Linked DNA regions of Homo sapiens: region 1 is linked to region 2. The links are contacts of gene promoters, found by promoter capture Hi-C in human tissues and cell types (Jung and others, 2019). All regions are on one chromosome and are shown on one strand. Each heading gives the region's core, a stretch centred on a gene start or on the middle of the fragment in contact. The rest is flanking DNA. Distances are from core to core; before and after follow the strand shown.

Region 1 (2,701 bases), core at 120-2,619, 280 kb before region 2:
GAGGGCAAGACGGCAGCTGCCCACAGTCCAGTCCTTGGGTTGGACACATCCCTCCTGGCCTTGGACAAGAGACACCCGCACAGCCTCTCTCCTTGTTACAAAGACCAATCTGGGATGTGCTGCAGGCCGAGGCTGGCCACCAGGTCCCTGAGGCCCGTGTTACCCCACGCACAGAGAAGGAGGCTGAAGTCTACCAGCTCCCTCTCCTCACCTGGGACCATCTCGCAGCAAGAAAAAAGGTGGTCAGATGGAAACAGGAAGCCAAGTCGAATGGATCTGAGACCGTCCCCCTGAGAAACAGCGGGGCTCAGAGAGGGTCTCTGAGGTTTTATCTGGCCCTTTTGGGCTGGGAGGCTGCCTGGGAAGCCACCGACTCCGTGGGAAGGGAGACCCGTGAACGCTGTGCGGGTAGCGGGAACATGTGGGTCTGTCACACTGGCCCGAGGCTGCAGCGGTGGTGGCTTGGCTGTGTTTGGGGAGGGTGGGGGACACATGGCAGCAATGTTGGAGCTGTGGACAGCTTCCTGTGATCAAAATATGATTCCTGAAGGTCAAGGTCACCAGAGCTTGGCCTGGGGCCTAGGGGTGCTGTGCGAGAAGTCGGACGGTGGCCCAGTGCTACCTTTCCATCATGGGCCATGGAAGTCTCCCAAGCCTGTCCCTGACAACTGGACACCAAATACACCCCTTCATGCTTTCTTCTCGGGTCTCTGCAGGGTGAGCTGGGTGCCCAGGGACAGGCTCGAGGGACTGGCATGTCTCTCTCTGGCCAAGCCTCCTTCCTCAGCTTTCTGGAAGGAGTGAATTGTGTCCAGGGACCAGAACTCTCAGTGGTGTCTGGAAAACACTACATCAGAGAGGAATTTCCTGGTCATTTCTCAATCCCTGGGCAATGTCCTCAGCCCCGGGGCCTGGAGCCCAGAATAGATCCCAGAGGCCACCCTGAGACAGCCCAGGCCAAGACCACCCCACTGAAGCCTGGTCAACTGTGCTCTTCAGGTCCCTCCTAGAGGCCCCCTACTACCCCGGGAGGCTCCAAGCCTAAGTGATGGTGACTCAGGAATTCCCCACCCAGGCCAGAGAGGGAGACACTGGGGGAGGGAGGAGACCTGTGTGTGGGGAGGTGGCAGGTGGCTCAGTGATGGGAACCAAGAGAGGATGTGGGGAGGAGAGTGGAGGCAGCGATGGGAGATGGATGTCCTGGATTGGGCGGGTGGACGGGGAGTGGGGAGTGTGCCAGGGGGCCCTCTGGAGAACAGTGAGGGAGGGCGGGGCAGAGAGAGGAAATGAAAAAGCTGGGGTGAGCAGGCAAGCTGAGGAGGGTGGGAAGGAGGGAGGGACGGAGGGAGGAGGGAAGGAGAAGCTGACACACAGACCGACACAGGCAGCGAGAGACACGAGGAGCAAAGCAAGTGAAGGCACAGACGCACGGGACAGGAGAGCCTGGGCAAGACTGGAGAGGTGCGGTGAGGGGCTGGGGATGCAGCAACACAGAGCAGGAGCAGGTAGAGGGTGTGGGGTTAGAGGGAGAAAGGTACGGGGAGGACAAGGACAAGGGAGGGGACAGAGACAGGGAGATATCAGCAAGAGACCGAGAGACAGGGAGGGAAAGAACTGGCAATGCCCGGATGTTCTCTGTCTCTTTAATGGCAGAAACAGAGCTAGAGAAGGAAAGAAACAGGAGGTGGTGGGGGGGTGGTGGGTGTCAGGCATGGTGGCTCACACCTGTAATCTCAGCACTTTGGGAAGCCAAGGTGGATGGATCACCTGAGGTCAGGAGTTCGAGACCAGCCTGACCAACATGGTGGAACCCCGTCTCTACTGAAAATACAAAAATTAGCTGGGCGTGGTAGTGGACGCCTGTAATCTCATCTACTCCAGAGGCTGGGGCAGGAGAATCGCTTGAACCCAGGAGGTGGAGGTTGCAGTGAGCCGAGATCATGCCATTGCTCTCCATCCTGGACAACAGAGTGAGACTCTGTCTCAAAAGAAACGAAAGAAAAGAAAGAGAGAAAGAGAAACAGGAAGGTGGGGAGAGACAGAGAGAGATACTGGAGAAGCCAGAGGGGAGAGGACTGCATACCCGCACACACAGGAGAACTGGGGGTTGGCTGGGAGGCCCCAGCTGCCAAAAGGACTGGCCAGCAGGGACATCTGAGTGGGCTGGGTGGTGGGGGTAGCCCTGGCTCCCTCTGACCCCCCACCTTGGGAACCCTCCAGCCCAGACCTGGGATGGCGGATTCGTGCAGGAACCTCACCTACGTGCGGGGCTCGGTGGGGCCGGCCACCAGCACCCTGATGTTCGTGGCCGGTGTGGTGGGCAACGGGCTGGCCCTGGGCATCCTGAGCGCACGGCGACCGGCGCGCCCCTCGGCCTTCGCGGTGCTGGTGACCGGACTGGCGGCCACCGACCTGCTGGGCACCAGCTTCCTGAGCCCGGCCGTGTTCGTGGCCTATGCGCGCAACAGCTCCCTGCTGGGCCTGGCCCGAGGCGGCCCCGCCCTGTGCGATGCCTTCGCCTTCGCCATGACCTTCTTCGGCCTGGCGTCCATGCTCATCCTCTTTGCCATGGCCGTGGAGCGCTGCCTGGCGCTGAGCCACCCCTACCTCTACGCGCAGCTGGACGGGCCCCGCTGCGCCCGCCTGGCGCTGCCAGCCATCTACGCCTTCTGCGTCCTCTTCTGCGCGCTGCCCCTGCTGG
Region 2 (2,923 bases), core at 94-2,593:
AGGCAGGAGAATCGCTTGAACCAGGGAGGCGGAGGTTGCAGTGAGCCGAGATTGCGCCATTGCACTCTAGCCTGGGCAAAAAGAGCAAAACTCCCGTCTCAAAAAAAAAAAAAAAAAAAAAATTCCAAACTGGTCTTTGTAATGACTCACGGAGACCCTGCATGATCTGGCCTCTGTCCTAATCTCATCTTGTTATTGGTCTCCCCCTAAGTAGCCAAAGCCCCAGCCATGCCAGTACCCTTTCATTCCCCATCCCAGGGCCTTTGCACAGGCTGCTTTACCTCCCTGGAACACTCCTCTCCAGTTCTCCCTCTGTGAGTTTCAGCTTAAACGCCTCCTGCTCAGTAAGGCCTTCCCCCACTACCCTATCTAAAGTAGCCTCCAACCCTTATTCTCTACTTCATCACACTGCTGGTTTGCTTTCAAAGCACTCATCACAATTTAAGTATTTTACTTATTTACATGGTTTTTTTTTGTTTTTTTTTTTTTCATGTCTGGTTCACCTGCAAAATTACAAGCTAAGGACAGGGCCACATCTGTCTCATTCACTGCTATATCCCCAAAGTCAAGCACAGTCCTTGGCACATAACAGGTACTCAATAAATATTTGTTGAATTAATGAATGAATGGGTGCCCCACACTTGACTCTCAATATTCTAAGTGATACTATTCTTAAGGATCCCCACCCTTACTCCCAAGGCCCCCACCATCACATTCCTTTTCCTCGGGTCAGCCCAAATCTCCTACTTCCTTGTTCCCCCCATCTAATGATCCATTCCCCACCCCCACGATTGCCTTCTCTATTGGGGCTGTGCCCCCTCTACCCCCCACTTGGCGGCACCCACCCCAGGACTCCCCATTTGGTAGCGCCATCAATCACTCCCCCACCACATGTCACTGCCTGGTAGCGCCCTCTACAGGCCTCACGTTTGGTAGCGCCCTCATTCCAGTCCCCCTCTCGCCCCACAATTGGTGGCGCCCTCCTCAGTCTCTCCACTGAGTAGCACCCGCTCCGCACGCCACTCCTAGGTATCACTCTCCGAAGCCCCCTATGTCGCTCCTTGGCAGCGCCATCCTGGGCCTCCCCACGCCCGGTCACTTGGTAGTGTCTGCCCCGCGCCCAGGCTGCAGCTCCGCGTTGCTATGGTTCCGCGCGGGCCCGGCACCCCTCAGCCTGGGCCACTGTCCACCCTCCCTGCCAGGCGGGCGCACCTTTGAAGTAGTCATTGGCCTGAGTCTTGAGCTCCTCTGCCCGCTTCAGAGCTCCATCAGCCGGGGGTTCGTCCCGGGGGGGCTCAGCACACTCAGTCCTCTCGCCCTCCGCCATCGCCATGCCGCAAAGCGACCCCTACCCTGGCAACGGCCGCCAGCGGCACCCGGCCGAACCGTCGCGAAGGAGCGCCGGGTGGCCGCCGCCGCTGCCGCACAAGTGTCGTAAAGCGCGGGCCCTGAAGGCGCCCTTCACGCGCCTGCGCAGGTCCCTTTCGCCACAGAGCGCGCGGAGGACAAGGTGACCAGAGGTTCCCCAGACGGTACCCCTGGTAGAGAGAGCCAATAGGGAATGAGAGAAGGGGCGCGCGGGGAAACAGACCTGGTGTGGCCTCTCCTCCCAAAGTTACCGTGTTCCAAGGCTGTAAAAAGTTTCTCGGTTCTGAAAGTGGGATTTCCCCGCTGTCCTCTAGGGTTGGGGGGTGGGTTGTGAATGTCGCTGGCGGGTGTGGCTGTTTTGCAAGGCAGCGCCATGCCCTACGCGGAGCCGGACCCGGGCGTCGAGCCCTATTGTCGACTACCTGTGTGACCTTGAACAAATCTTCCCTTCCTCTCTAGGGTCTCAGTTACCCATCTCTGAAAAATTAGTGGTTTCTCAAGCCAAAAAGGGTCCAACCTTGAGGGTCAGTGTTTGAGTTTTTAACTGAAGGCACTCTGGATTTCAAGTCCTGAGCAAGGCTTAGAAGTGTGTTGCACCATCTCCTTTCTTCCTGTGTTCAGCTTCCCAAATCCTGAATCTTCAAATAAACTCTCCTGTTTGTGTTTTTACAGATTCTCTTGTCTGAGATCACAGCATTGATTGCATGCACTCTGCCTCCCTCCAGTTTACCCTTCACATTTTTTTTTTTTTTTTTTTTTTTTTGAGAGGGAGTCTCCCTCTGTCGCCCAGGCTGGAGTGCAGTGGCGCCATCTAGGCTCACTGCAACCTCCGCCTCCCGGTTTAAGCGATTCTTCTGCCTCAGCCTCCCAAGTAGCTGGGATTACAGGCGCCCGCCACCATGCCCGGCTAATTTTTGTATTTTAGTAGAAACGGGTTTCACCACGTTGGCCAGGCTGGCCTCGAACTGCCGACCTCAAGCTATCCGCCCGCCTCGGCCTCCCAAAGTGCTGGGATTACAGGCGTGAGCCACCGTGCCCGGCCGAGGGATCTTTCTAAGACATGATAAAACCATGGCACACTCTCGCTCCCAGGCTTCCATGGCCCCAGCACCCTTAGGAGAAAACCCAAACTCCTGATTAGGAGACCCTGAATAGTCTTAACCTCAGGCTGAATAGTCTAATATCCAGATTCCACCCCTTTGCCAATCCCCACCCGCCGTACACGCTTCCAGTCTGTCCTTTCTAAGCCCTCATGTAGCACTAAGTCCTGTAAGGCTCTGGATCCCCTCCTGGAAGCACACTCCTAAACCTATCTATCCCACTCCCAAACCTCTTGTTAGTCCAACCCCATCTCTCCTACTGGCCCCCAGCACAACCAACAATCACCCTAAAGGGCAGATATTAGTATCATCTCCATTTTACAGATAAAGACACAGACTTGCAGAGGTGTTTGACGAAGGTCACAACAACATAAGAAGGTGACAGAGCCAGGATCAGGAATCCCATCTAATTCCTATGTCCTTCATTGCCACTCTACTGCCTCTGTAGGTGCCAG

Evidence for each region. The method cuts DNA at HindIII sites, captures the fragments that hold promoters and counts their contacts. A contact is called where the count stands out against the background at its distance.
Region 1: a contact is called between the fragment with the promoter of PTGIR here and the fragment with the promoter of PPP5C in region 2, in 2 of the 25 tissues and cell types used here (mesenchymal stem cells and small bowel).

The regions. Positions count from the first base shown.
Region 1 is chr19:46,623,757-46,626,457 of GRCh38, reverse strand. It overlaps PTGIR (prostaglandin I2 receptor), which reads left to right and starts at 1,369. Exons shown (of 3, transcript NM_000960.4): 1 at 1,369-1,461; 2 at 2,221-2,701. The coding sequence starts at 2,233. RefSeq lists an enhancer at 654-1,154. The HindIII fragment of the contact is 28,599 bases long and covers 1-2,701 here.
Region 2 is chr19:46,345,507-46,348,429 of GRCh38, reverse strand. It overlaps PPP5C (protein phosphatase 5 catalytic subunit), which reads right to left and starts at 1,343. Exons shown (of 13, transcript NM_006247.4): 1 at 1,213-1,343. The coding sequence starts at 1,333. RefSeq lists enhancers at 1,096-1,225, 1,326-1,505. The HindIII fragment of the contact is 31,019 bases long and covers 1-2,923 here.